Regions from separate parts of the Homo sapiens genome. Here region 2 is linked to region 1. Evidence: promoter capture Hi-C in 16 types of primary human blood cells and fetal thymus (Javierre and others, 2016). All regions are on one chromosome and are shown on one strand. Each heading gives the region's core, a stretch centred on a gene start or on the middle of the fragment in contact. The rest is flanking DNA. Distances are from core to core; before and after follow the strand shown. Region 1 holds the start of MAGI1 (membrane associated guanylate kinase, WW and PDZ domain containing 1). Region 2 overlaps MAGI1 (membrane associated guanylate kinase, WW and PDZ domain containing 1).

The links. The method cuts DNA at HindIII sites, captures the fragments that hold promoters and counts their contacts. A CHiCAGO score of 5 or more calls a contact.
Region 2: a fragment that was not itself captured here is called in contact with the fragment with the promoter of MAGI1 in region 1 in 1 of 17 cell types (endothelial precursors); the score reaches 8.4 in endothelial precursors.

The regions. Positions count from the first base shown.
Region 1 is chr3:66,033,585-66,040,450 of GRCh38, forward strand. It overlaps MAGI1 (membrane associated guanylate kinase, WW and PDZ domain containing 1), which reads right to left and starts at 5,334. Exons shown (of 23, transcript NM_001033057.2): 1 at 4,412-5,334. The coding sequence starts at 4,724. LOC105377128 (a long non-coding RNA gene) reads left to right here and starts at 5,369. Exons shown (of 2, transcript XR_001740440.2): 1 at 5,369-5,614; 2 at 6,468-6,710. RefSeq lists enhancers at 1,864-2,693, 2,694-3,521, 3,522-4,349 and a silencer at 5,302-5,421. The HindIII fragment of the contact is 5,984 bases long and covers 595-6,578 here.
Region 2 is chr3:65,793,954-65,801,077 of GRCh38, forward strand. All of the region lies in intron 1 of MAGI1 (membrane associated guanylate kinase, WW and PDZ domain containing 1), which reads right to left. Among named protein-coding and RNA genes, the nearest start is that of MAGI1-AS1, 96 kb to the right of the region's middle. The HindIII fragment of the contact is 2,144 bases long and covers 3,343-5,486 here.

The DNA.
Region 1 (6,866 bases), core at 4,084-6,583:
AATCAAAACAATACCAAAACAAAAAACCACACAAAGAACTATATTCAACCATATGTGATCACAATTTCCCTCATTACAGTGAGGGGAAGGGTCTGGTGGTGGTTTGGTTTGGCTTTTAAATTGTATCTCTTTTATTATCTCCACACTGCCACACATACACAAAAAGTAGAGGGATAGTTACAGTTCCTGGGTAATTTGAAAAACCACAAAATTCACCTGCAAAAATATGTAAGCATGACCTGTAATACACCACTTTGGGAAACTACAATCATACCATTTTAAACCTTTGGAGTCTGGGTGATTCATGGAAACAAAGGATTTCACGAGCACAAATAACCTGAAGAGGCTCACCCACTTATTTTTGGCATAGAGAAATGTAGGCTCCAAGAATGTGACTGGCAGAGCTTATTCTAGAACCCAGGTCACCTGTCTCATCTGATGTCATCTTCTCAATTTTGGTCTATACCCTAGTACAGTAGTTCTTAAAACTGAACCCTTGAATCCCTTAATAAGCCCATCAGAATCCCTTGAGGGTTTATTAAAACACCCCATGGTTGTTACCCCACCCCCCAACCCCAACCCCATCCCCCGCAAAGCTTCTGAATTGGTAGAACTAAGGTGGGGCCCAGGAATCTGGATTTCTAACCAGTTCCCAGGTTACTATACTAATGCCACTGGTCTGAGGACCTCACTTGGAGACCTACTGTCCCAGGAATTGGGAGCACAGGCTTTGGAATCAGACAGAGCTGGGTTGCAGCTCTACTGCCACTGTGGTATGACCCTTGGAAAAGTTACCCAAATTCTCTGAACCTCAGCTTCTAACATCTGAGTCCAATTGTAAGGACTGAAAAAGAGAATGCCCACGAAGCATCAGCTTAGCCAAGCACCTATTATATTCTAAGGCAAGATCTTAATACATACTAGCGACATCTTATATCCTGTATCAAAGTTTCCTTAATTACATTTTTCCGAAGCATATACTAGGACGGCTAAAATTCAAAAGACAAACAAAATCAAAGATGGCCAAAGATGTAGAGCAACTGAAACATTAATAACAGCTTTATTCGTAATAGTAAAAAATGGTAAATACTCCAAATGTCCATAAACAAGCAAAAGGACAAACTGGTATGTGTATACAATGGAATATTACTTAGCAATAAAAAAAGAACCAAATGAAGTACACATGCAACAAAACGAAATCTCCAAAATATTTTGTTGAGTAACAAAAGCCAAACACAAAAGAGTACATACTGCATTAGTTCATTTTTATGAAGTTGAAGACAAAATTATTCTATGGTAGATCTATGGTGCAGGGGGAGGGGGGAATTAACTGGACAGGAACATGAGAAAAATTTCTGGGGTGATGAAAATGTTCTCTATCTTCATTTGAGTGATTAACATGAGTGCATACATCGCTTAAAACTCATCAAATTATATATCTAAGATATGCATTTTACTATAGGTAAATGATACCTGAATACACATAATTATATATAACTTTGTAAAGGCATTTTATGACAAAGTACTGTCTTCCCCACTTAAAATGAACCAACTCCAACCTGACAAAGGACTGTCTTCTCCATTTAAAATGAACCAAGTCCAACCTGGCAGATCCATTGAGTTTGATTCCTGCACAATCCAGTCCTGTCACAGACAGTTTTGGTCCATGTATCTTTCCAGAGAACTGCCATGAAGTAGAAAAACAGAATTTTCTCCCACCATGTAGACAGTATCCAGAGTGATCTGTGTCCCTGGAAGTGGCTAACTTGGGATGCAAACAACACAAAAGTAGTATTTTTCTTTACCATATACCAAGTATGAGCCTGCTTGATATGACTTTAAAAGGCACAGTAATGAAGACACATTAAGAGCAATTCTGTCATACAATCTAAATCATATTCTCAACATGGAAGAGGGAGCAGAAAACTGGTGAAATGGTTTCTAGGGCCATCATTACTGGTAATGAAGACGTCAGAAGATCCAACTGTGCCTGTGTAATTATTACATGAAATAGTCACTTTCAGACTGCAATGAATTCCAGGCCATTCAGGTTTCCCAATCAGTATCATATTTCTATCCCATTACAAGTAGATTCACGTACATCCATCCATACATACATATACACACACACACAGAAACATACCCACACACTCGCCCCTGCTGTGAACAATCTGTGCACAAGGGGTGAAGAGAGCTAACACCTGGAGACACTACAGTTTCCTTTCAACTCAGAGGTGTCTGTTTCCAAACCCACTTGATTATCTCACCAAGCCTTCCTAAACTCCATGATGAGAGAGCCCTGGGACATCGCCTCCCAGAAATTTGGCAACTAGTGGAAGGAAGAGACACAAGCCCATGCAGCATCTTGCACACTGCAAACACTGCAAGCCAGCCCCTATTCAGGACCCGTTAGACACTGCGAGGCATCCCCCTAGTTGGGCAGGTACCCTTGCCTGTCCTTCCTCCACCCTTTCTCCAAAATGGTCCTGAACTGAGACCTGCAGCTGCTCCCATCCTATGCCTTCACACAGTATTTTCTCTACAGCCCTATCAAGTCATAATTATCCAGGTTCCTGACACTAAAAACTAGTTTCAGAAATAAATAGCTGCTAAAATCAATTCAAACATAAATAGCTAATCTTTATGGAGCACTTACTATGTACAGGCACTGTTGGGTGCACTTTCCACGTGTTAGCTTATGTAATACCCACAGGAAAGCCAGTGTGAGGAAGACGCATTGTCAGGCCAGGAAAGGTTTTGAACCTCAAGCAAAACCTGGAGAGGTATGCCAGGAATGAGGCACAATCTCTCCCTTTAATGAGCTCACTACCTTGTATGGAAATGAGGACCTAACTCAGAGTTCAGAGTAAGTAAAAAAGCCACAAAGTAGACATTAAAGGAGCCCAAAGGAGGAAGAATTTGTGCATCCTAGCAGGATTCTGGAGGGCTTCTTGGAGGAGGTATCCCAGTGGAGAATGAAGTCATAAATACAAGGAGCTTTCCATAGCTAAGTGTCAGCTCCTCAGCTCCCAAAGCTGCTAAAAGGCCAGGCGAGTCGGCCGCCCCCTCCTCCATTTCATCTGGAGCACGCCTGTTTCCAAGAGAGGACCAGCTAGGCCCAGCCCTTCCTTTGACACATTCCTCCAGCTGCTGCCTGTCCTTATGGAAACACATGGGAACTTTTCACCATGTTCAACTTCACGACTTCCTTCGGTGCTTTCACTGGGGAGAACCTGCGTCATGGCACTTGCTTGCACAAGGGAGCCCTTTAAGGGCCTCAGCTGGTCTCCATTGGGTTGACATGAGGACAGCCCCTTGTCTGTACCAAAGTGAGATGTAAGGGACCTACATCACCAGCAGCCAGCAAATGCATCTTTTAAAAGGCCTCTACAGATTTCTGAGAGAGGAATTTGCTTCCACTCCCTCCTCAGGAATCAGCCCCTTCAGTGCGGTAGGGTCATCCCCCCACTCCTTCCTCCTCCATACTTAAGGCTCTGCAGCAAGGGCTCAAACCCTCGCTTTTGGCAACTGTGTGACCTTGAGCAAGTCACTTAACCAGTATCAATCCCAGTTTCCTTATCTCTAATTTGGGGTATATAAATAAGAACAACTCGTTCTTAGAACTGTTGTGAATCGGAGTGAGATAGTGCAAGTAAAGTATTTTACACAGAGCCGGGCATGTAGTAAACCAACAATGAATAGTAGCTTCATTTTCATCATCAATAATGACGATGATGGTGGTGGTGGGAGGGTAAACTTGGACCCGATTCGAGCTAAAAGCAAGCACCCCTTCCCCCTCTCCCCCTCCCAAGTGTATGGCTGAGCCACACGGTGGAGACACATGCGTCATCCGGCTGAGGGGTGAATGCAGGCTCTTCTGGCGGCGGGCTCAGGAACCGCCAGGCAGTGGTGTCCTAGCTCACCTGGAGGGGTCGCGGGGTGAAGCAGATTTTCTGATGGGGGAGGTCCAATAAACTACAGACCCTCTCTTTCTGTATACCCACTCAGCAGGTATGGAAACTGACTCGTGGCCAAAGAACGCCAGCTGCATCCCTCCCCCAAGGAGCCAGGACAGCGTCCACCATGCCCCTGACTCAGTTCCCCAACTCTCTCTCGGGTGCAGGCGAGACTGCGCTGCACTTAGTGGCGGAGATAACAGGTTGGCCAGCCAGGCCTGAGAAACGTCCCCCCGCTACCTTGCGCAAACCCAGCCCCCTCTTCGAAACGCAGGTGGGCAAACAACCCTCAACCTCGCAACAACTTTGTGTATTTCACCGCCACCACAGGGCGCACGGCCTCAACTTCTCTTCACTGCGCTCCGAGGAGGGAAGCAGGAAATCGAGAATAAGGGGCAGCCCACAGACCACCCTCCTTTTCTCGGGGCGCCCCCCAAAGGCGCGCCCTGCCTTACCTTGTCTGACGGCCTTGAAGGTGACGGCCTCCTTGCAGCTGTCGATGACCCCCAGCACGTCATAGCGGGGCAAGCCGGACACCCGGACCCCCTGCACCTCCAGAAGCAGCTCCCCTTCGCCCAGCCTCGGGCCCTCGCCGCCGCCGGGAAGCCCCGCTGCCTCGACCGCCGCCACCGCTCCGACGTACGGAAACTCCCCGTGCTCCGCGCCTCCCAGCACCGTCACCCCCAGCTCGCCCTGGGGTCCCCGCTTCACGGTGCATTCGTGAACCCTGCTAGTCCAGTGGTTCTTCTTCTGGATCACTTTGGACATGATGAGTTACACCCCTCCTCCAAAAAAATAAAACGAGAGACAGGTGCCCCCCACAGCACGAGCCCCCAAGCCTCCGCTTGTTCATGGGAGAAACATCTCTCCCCAAATCACAAAACAGGAGAGAGAAACTTGGCAGCCTCGCTCCCCTGCACACGCTCGCGCACTCAAGCCATCATAAAACAAACTTTCTGGGCTTCCCCGCGAGCCCCGCACAGGCGCCCGCGAGCTTTGTTTGCATTCCGGTGCCTCTGGGTCCACGTTCCGGCGCCCGCCCGTGCTCTCCCGGACCAGAGTCCACTCTGCGCCGCTCGGGTTATTTTTTTTTCCTTCCTTCCTTTCTCTCTTGCCTTTTACAAATGCGGTGCCTCCTCTTTGCCTCCCGCCCGGCTCGCCTCTCCTCGCTGGCAGGCTGTTACTGAGGGTGAGGGAAGCCCTTCCAGCCAGTTGCCGGGAGCCCTGAAGACGCGGTGGCGGGGCGGCGGGGAGCAGGGCGGGAGGTAAGTGCTCGCGGCCCCTTTAAGCAGATACAAAGGCTCGGCTTGTTTTGTTACAGTTCATTCTATTCCGCGCCGCGGAGCGCAGCGGCCGGCGACAGGAGACGCGCGCGCATGCGCCCCGCGGCCGCCAGCCGGCCGGCCCACCCCTCCCCTCCTCCCCGAAGGGAGAGATTCCAACGTGCTTCCCGATGGGTCCTAAAACCGACCTGCCGGGAGAAGGCAACTCCCCCCCAACCCTTCCTGAACCCCTATCCTCTCTCCTTTTCTTTCAGTGCCCTGGACTCCGCGGATTCCTTTGGGGCTGGAGGGCCGCACACGTGTTTTACTCCAACTGTTTGCAACTTTTGAAACCCGGGCAATCTGGCTTTGGCATTTGAAAACCATTTCAAACAGGTGGGGGTTGGGGAGGCTGCCACACTCACCCTGGCGCTCACACTCACGCACACGCGCACGCACTCGCGCCGGCCCTAAGCCTCCTAACCGCCCTCGGCCAGTGGCTGGCCAGGCTGTCGGTCACCCAGCCCGGCTGGTTCGCCGCCCCCCTTGCCGCAGGTCCCACTGAAACCCCCGAGACCCGCCCCGGGGCGCTCGCCGCCTCCCTGCCTGCCCTGCGCTTGCGGGTTCGGGTCCTGGCGCGGGGTCTGCCAGGGTCTCTGCGACCCGGGGGAGGGGGACGGTGGGATCCTCCGGTTCCCCAACTGGGATCCCTGTGCGGGTCACACGCGCTCTTACACACACCCGCATCCTTAAACTTTGGGACCAACTTTTTAGGACACGGGAAACTACAGGCAAGAGAGAGAAGCCATGGTGCTAGTGTGGGTTCAGGTATTCAACCAAAAAAGAGATCCCTCTAGCTTTTCAACTGCCCTGCCAGCAGAGACTGCTGGACCCAGTCAATCATCTGCCCCGGCCTCAAGTTCCTGGCAGGGCCGAGAAGCCTGCGGACCTACTCCGGGGCCAGGAGATAAGGATCCCCGCCGGGCGCGGACATGCCCTGCGTCCTGGCGCCCGCGGGGGCGTGAGAGAACTCGGAATTCGCAGCCCGGGGGTAGCTGCGGCCTCCGGAGGTCGCCCGGGGGTGCGGATGGAGTGACTTCTGTCCCGGCGAGGTGGCGGACAGAAAGACTCCCATACCACAGGAAGGCTGCCCTTCCCAAATACTCCTCAAATCAGGCTGCTGAGTAGTCTCCCCAGCAGTTTGTTTTCCTCTTTAGTGATGTATAATTTTGTTCATCTTTGGTCACAGGAGAGATTCCAAGAAATGAGGGGGGTACGTTGAAACGATGAAGAAAGGATGGACACAGCAGTCGAGGTTGAGAGGTAGGCTCAGGGGTCCACCCTTGTGTGACCTTGAGCAAGCTTGGTGACCTCCGCGCCTCCGTTTCTCGCTGATCAAATAAGTAGAACAAGACCTCACAGGGTTCTTGGAAGTATTACGTGGGAAAACACTTATAAAGTGGCAAATAATAAAAACTCATTATATTCTTAATAGTAGTATTACTATTTGGGAAGAAAATTGGGAAATCATTTGGGGATTCAAGTTAGTAAGTATGATAATTTATCCTCTCCTTTCTAGAACTTAGAAAATATGGGCATACTTTGTGTGTTTGTTTTTTGATGGTGGTGGTGGTGTTTTTAGAAACGT
Region 2 (7,124 bases), core at 3,165-5,664, 240 kb before region 1:
TGACTAACCACTGTAAACCTGCTGTCTTTATGTCAAACCCACTGCCTTCCTTTTTCCTCGGAGCAAGACAGCCACCATATCTGTGATTTATTGCGCTACCACAATACAGAACACGACTCGACCTGGACCACACCCTAAGGCTAGAAGACAGCAGTAACACTAAAAGGATGAGACGCAAGCCATTGCCAGAAGATCTGGAATGGCCATTTTCCTTCTCGTAAAAGGAAAAACTCAAAAATTGGACCTAATCAAAACTAAAACTTGTGCTCTGTGGAAAGAGGCTAAAAATACAAGCCACAGGCAGGGAGGAAACATTTGCAAGCCACAGACTCAACAAAAGACTGAGACCTAGAATACATAAGGAACTCTCAAAACTCAACAGCACCTTTTCCTCAGTTGCTGCTAAGGCATTTGGTCCTTCTGAGGAAGCTCAGGACCTGTTGGGGTATGGCCTTCTCTTTATCCAGTGACTAAGACTGCGCCCAGCAGCCACTTCCCCAGCCCCCACCCATAACGCAGCCTCAATCTCTGAGCTCACCTGCATCCACTCATTCTGCAGGACAGTGAGGTGATAGTCACAGAATGAAAATCAAAACCCTCATTAAAGCAGCTGGTGTCAATGGTGAACCTTTCTGGCCTAGCCAATGTCAGCCTCAGGAGCCCCCTCTGCTGTGTAGAGCCTAGGGGACCTGCCTCACAACCAGCGATGCCCCAGCAGGAGACCCTATCCCTCCACCCTGCTGTCCTCACTCAGAAAAAAAGAGGGGGCAAAGAAAAGAGAATCTGAGGAGCCCCACGATGACATGGGCCTTGGTCTTTTTGACTAAATCTTTTATGTAATATGTTCAATAAAAAGCTGAACAAAACACAACAAAACAAACCCTCATCAGGAAAAAAAAAAAAAAAACCCACAAACTATCCGGGTATAAGATGGGCAAAATATATAAACAGACATTTCACCACAAAGGATATACAGACAGCAAATAAGCACATGAAAAGATGTGTGCAACATCACTATCCAACGACGCAAATGACTAATGCTAATGAGATACCACCACGTACCTATCAAAACAGGTAAAATCAAAAACAGTGACGACAGCAAACACTAGTGAGGTCACGGAAAACAGTTTGACACTTTCTTATAAAACTAAACAGGTGACTATCATGTGACCAGCAATTGCTCTCTTGTGCTTTTAAATGAGAAAAGGACATTTATGTTCAAACACACAAAAACATTTGCATATTTCATACACTATGAACATGTGCATATGAAATACACAAATGTTCATAGCAACTTTATCAGTAATAGCCAAAACTACCATCAACACAGATCTTCTTCAATAGCTGAGTGGCTAAAAAAAAAGTATGGCTCATCCATACCATGTAACACTACTCAGCAATTTTTAAAAATGAACTGCTGATACACACAGTAACCTGGATGACGCCCTCAGGTGGCTACGCTGCATGAAAACCATAATCCTGGGCTACATACTGTGTCATTCCATTTGTATAACATTCTTGAAATGATAAAATTGTAGAGATGGGGAACATATTAGTGACTGAGAGGGGTTTTGTAAAATATTACCATTGGAAGAAATTATGCAAAGGATACACTGGATGGCCCTGTAGTATTTCTTACAACTACTTGTAAATCTCCAATTATCTCAGAATAAGAAGTTTAACTTAAAATGAAGCCTGCTCTATTTCGGTCTCCAAAGAAACAGAACCATAAGATGATAAGATACACACACACACACACACACACACACACACGGAGAGAGAGAGAGAGATAGAGATTTAAGAAATTGGTCAGGCCGAGGGGTGTGATGGCTCATGTCTGTAATCCCAGCACTTTGGGAAGCCTAGGCAGGTGGATCACCTGAGGTCAGGAGTTCAAGACCAGGCTGGCCAAAATGGTGAAACCCCGTCTCTACTAAAAACACAAAAATTAGTCAGGTGTGGTAGTGCACACCTGTAATCCCAGCTACTTAGGAGGCTGAGGCGCAAGAATTGCTTGACCACAGGAGGCGGAAGGTGCAGTGAGCAGAGATCGTGCCACTGCACTCCAGCCTGGGTGACAGACTGAGACTCTGTCTCAAAAAAAAAAAAAAAAAAAAGAAAAGAAAAGAAAAGAAATTGGCTTCACAGGACTGCGGAGGATGGCGAGTCCAAAATTGCAGAGCTGGCACAGGCCGGGGTCCCAGGGAAGAACTGATGCAAAGACACTCTCCAGGCAGAATTCCTTCTTCCTCCCAGGAGCTCTATTTTCTTTGTCTTTTAAGGCTATTTTCTTTTAAGTCTATTTTCTTTTAAGGCTTTCAACTGATTTGATTGATGAGGCCAATCCCCATTGGAAAGGGTAATCTGCTTTGCTCTGAATCTATTAATACCAATGTAAACGTTATTCTTATCTAAAGAATACCTTCCCAGCGACATCCAGACTGGTGTTTCACCAAATACCTGGGTACCGTGGCCTAGCCAAGTACAAACAAAATTAACCATTACAGCTGCTGTTTCATCTCTTTTCTGCTGGGCTTTTGGTCACTAAGCAGAAAATATGAGGGGAAACGGACACACTGGCTCCCACAGCGGTTGGTCTCTGACATCAGCTATATCTATGTGGGGCAAGTTAGCTATTAATAAGTTTTGCCATGAAATAAAATTAAAAGTATTTATATTCATTTACTTTAAATCTTTTTAAATGCCTAAACCTTCTGAATAATAATATGCTATTCCTAATGCTCTAACCAAGGGGTCGGCATATTTCAACTATAATAAGGTGCCGATAGTAAATACTGTTGGCATTGCAGACCATATGCTCTCTACCCTAACCTCTCAATTCTGTTGCTGTCATGGGAAAGCGGCCTTGTACTATACATGACAAATGGGAATGGCTGTGACCACTAAACTTTATTTACAGAAACAGGCTGTGGGTCAGATTTGGCCTCAGGGCCATAGTTTGAGGATGCCTCCTCTGTTACCAACAAAATTTCAGGTACTTTTCATTCTTTCTCTCATCTTCCAAGGGTGTGATCTTGGATTGAAACTAATCATCTGTATTTTTTTTTTCCAACAGCATTTACTTTTCATCCAGAAAACCTTAGCTATGCCGCATGAGTTCTGATTATCTATTAAACATGAAGCTCAAGTGGTTATTTGCTAGTCACTTTTAAGTGTTTGGAAAAAAATATTAAAGTCCTCAGTCTCTGAGATACAAGGCAAGTCCAATTAGTGCAGACAATGTAAGCCATTATCCAGCTGCAATGGTCTCTTACATTTTCAAAAGAAAGAGTGGAGGCAGGTAAACACTAGCCCAGTAAACATTAAGGATGCATCTAAGGAAGCTTTAATAGGGGCAGGATACCTGTAAAGAGTCTATGACTCACTACATTATTCTAGAATAGATTTTTAATTACTCTGATCTATGTATGGCAACTGCTGCTTCTGATTAAATAGATTTAAAATGAGAAGAAAGAAAACAGAAACCGGCCAGGCACACTGGCTCATACTTGTAATCCCAGTACTTTGAGCAGTCGAGCCATGCAGACGGCTTGAGCCCCAGAGTTCGAGACCAGCCTGGGCAACATGGCAAAACCCCATCTCTACAAGAAAATTAGCCTGGTGTGGTGGCAAAGGCCTGTAATCCCAGCTACCTGGGAGACTGAGGTCAGGTGATCACCTGAGCCTTGGAGTTCGAAGCTGCAGTAGGCCATGATCACACCACTGCACTCCAGCTTGAGCAACACAGTGAGACCCAGTCTCAAAAAAAAGAAAACAGAAATCTAGTTTCTATAAATACTAATATTTTAACCAATATTAATATTTAAGAACTTTGAAGAATCCAGAGCACGGACAGGAAAAATAACACAGATTTCTAGTGGAGATTATTCAATGTATGTTGGGAAGTTTTGTCATCTAAGGATACACTCAAATCTAAGCGTAACCTTGGATTGGACTGTGCTGTACTGTTTATGGGCATTACAGCTATGGAGCAACAGCCCTTGAAAGGAATATAGTTTGTCTCATTTCTAAAATGCATCTTCAATTCTTCACCTTAAAAACATAGCCTTGGCCTGGTGCAGTGGCTCACACCTGTCATCCCAGCACTTTGGGAGGCCAAGGCAGGCAGATCACGAGGTCAAGAGATGGAGACCATCCTGGCCAACATGGTGAAACCCTGTCTCTACTAAAAATACAAAAATTAGCTGGGCATGGTGGGGTGTGCCTGTAATCCCAGCTACTTGGGAGGCTTAGAAAAGAGAATCACTTGAACCCGGGAGACGGAGCTTGCCGTGAGCCGAGATCACACCACTGCACTCCAGCCTGGGCAACAAAGCGAGACTCCATCTCAAAACAAACAAACAAACAAACAAACAAACAAACACAGCCTCAGAAGCACTGAAAATGACAACCCCTCGCCCATTCCATGCCTTTCTTCCTCCCGGGAAACATAAGTCATCAGGACCCATGGAGCAGACATCATTCTGAAAGGCACATCAAAGACACTCTGAAGTTCCAAAGGAAGCCGCCAACTGTAGGCCTCGGGCCAAGATAGGTGTAGGGGTGCTGCCCTTTACCATGGCTCTTGCCTCTTTACCATGGCTTAGGAAGGATGCTCTGGGTTTCCTTAAACTTCGCAGATTCATGCTGATTGCAGTCAAAATAAATATTCCCAGGAGCTTTGTGAACTGAAATTTCCTTTCATGAAAAGAATTTCTAGAAATACTACAGCTACAGTAGTCCCCCCATTATCCACGGCTTCGCTTTCTGCAGTTTCAGTTACCTACGGTCAACCACAGTCCAAAAATATTAAATGAAAAATTTCAGAAATAAACAATTCATAAGTTTTAAATCATGCACCGTCCTGAGTGATGTGATGAAATCTCTCACCATTCCACTGTGTCCAGCTCAAAGGGGAACCGGCCTTTAGGACAGCATTTCTACCCCGTATACCCTCACCACCCATTAATCACATATCGGCCACCTCAGTGAGCAGGTCGACTGTCAAAGTATCACAGTGCTTGTGTTCAAGAAACCTTTATTTTACCTAATGATGACCCGAGAGTGCAAGACTAGTGAGGCTAGCAAGTCAAACAGCCAAAAGGGAAGCTGTAATGTGCTTCTGTTAGTGAAAAAGGTGAAAATTCTCGATTTAATAAGCAAAGAAAAAAATCATATGCTGAGGTTGCTGAGCTCTATAGTATTCTATCTGTGAAACTGTAATGAAGGAAAAAGAAATTCGTGCTACTTTTCTGTTGCACTTCAAACTACAAAAGTTATGGCCACAGTGCATTACAAGTACTTAGTTCAAAAGGAAAGAAAAATGTTTGGGTGGAAGACATCAACAGAAATGGGTTCCAACTGACTGAAACATGTGGCACCAGGAAGCACCGAGCCTATACAAAGACTTCAGCAAGGGATCCCCTAAAATGAGTGACACTAAGTTATTTGTTGCAAGTAGCGAATGGTTGTGCAGATTCAAGATAAGCTTGTACCGAAAAATACAAAAATTACTGGAGAGTCTCTATCTGCTGATGAAGAAGCAGCTGTCACATTTCCAGCAGAGTTGAAGAAGCTGTTGATCTCATTACTGTGCCTAGTTTATAAATTAAATTTTATCATACATATGTATGTATGGGGAAGAGCAAAGTATACTATAGAATTTGGTACTATTCCATGGTTTGAGGCATCCACTGGGGGTCTTGGAAGATATCTCCTGCAGATAAAGGAGGACTACACATAATAAAAGAGCAGCTGACATGTCAGTTAATTGTAGTTTTAAATGAATATGCAAACAAAACTCATATTTATGTGTTTTTTAAAAAATATTTATTTGGGCTGATGTTTCCACAACTTTTGAAAACTCTGTAGTGTATTGCACATTTTCCCCTCACATTAATAATTGTACCCAACGCTTTACATTTAAATATTCTTCAGCTGAGAAGATGTCTGGAAGTTGAAAAAAATAGATAAAACAAGCAAGCATATTATTTAAACACAAATAATGTACCATTTTAAAATAAGTTAATACTACGTTTCCCAATTATTCAGACTTCCTGAAGGTTCCGACTGCCTAATTCCAAGTCTACCACTTACTTTGCTGAATGGCGTTGGGCATGTTACTTTCCTCCCAAGTTTCAGTTTCCTCATCCATAAATGGAGAGCCTAATAATACCTGCTCCATATGGGGTTCTAGTGGCGAACAGGTGACTTAACACATGTAAAGCATTCAGAATAATGCCTGGCACGTGGCAAGCCTTTAGTAAGTGCTAATCCTGATCATCAGCTTCTTTTTCTTCTTCATCATTAATTTGTGGTTCTTACATTTAAAGGTGTCAGGGTAGTTCAATGTAGGAGCAAGCAAAGTTTTAGGGGTGGCATGTTAAATATTAAATATAATCAATCCTTCCCTCCCCTTGGAGTATTTTCTATACACTGAAGAGTATCTTTTAGTAATTGTGAATTTCTTTTTTATCCCCACAAAGAGTTAGAGGGAAACCTTAGCAAAACCAGACATTGTGTATCAGTGAGTCCAATTGTCCAGTCTCATAGTCTTTATAACCCAGCAAACAGGCCCAGTGAACAGGTGCTTGGAAGGGCAGAACATGGACTGCTTCAAACAATCAGAAATGCATCCAATAAGATATGAACTCCCACCATGGGAAATACGTTTTTTAATTAGATTAAAAAAAAAACTGATGTAAGAAATTGGCAAAATTGTTGCTTCTGAAAAGGAGTGATAGCAAAAACTAAAACTAAAAATAAAATAAAATTTTTAAATATGTATCCATTCCTATGGTTTCCAAGTATTTTGATGTTAGCTTCTACCAGGACTGCCTGATATTTTTCTCATATATTTTCTTCCTTTATCTTAGAGTGAATCTATTTGTCACACAGTTTATTGTTCCTGTTAGGTTGGTGCAAAATTAATTGTGGTTTTCGCCATTAAAAGTAATAGTAAAAACCGCAGTCACTTCTGCACCAATGTAATATTTCCCCTGGGATAAAACAGAGTTGGATGAATCAGGTGCTCACAGGCAAATCTCCCTGGAAGTTCCTACTTAGTTCTTCTCCTCTGTCACTTTATATTTATTTGCAAATTGTCAAGCACCATTGGTTTATAT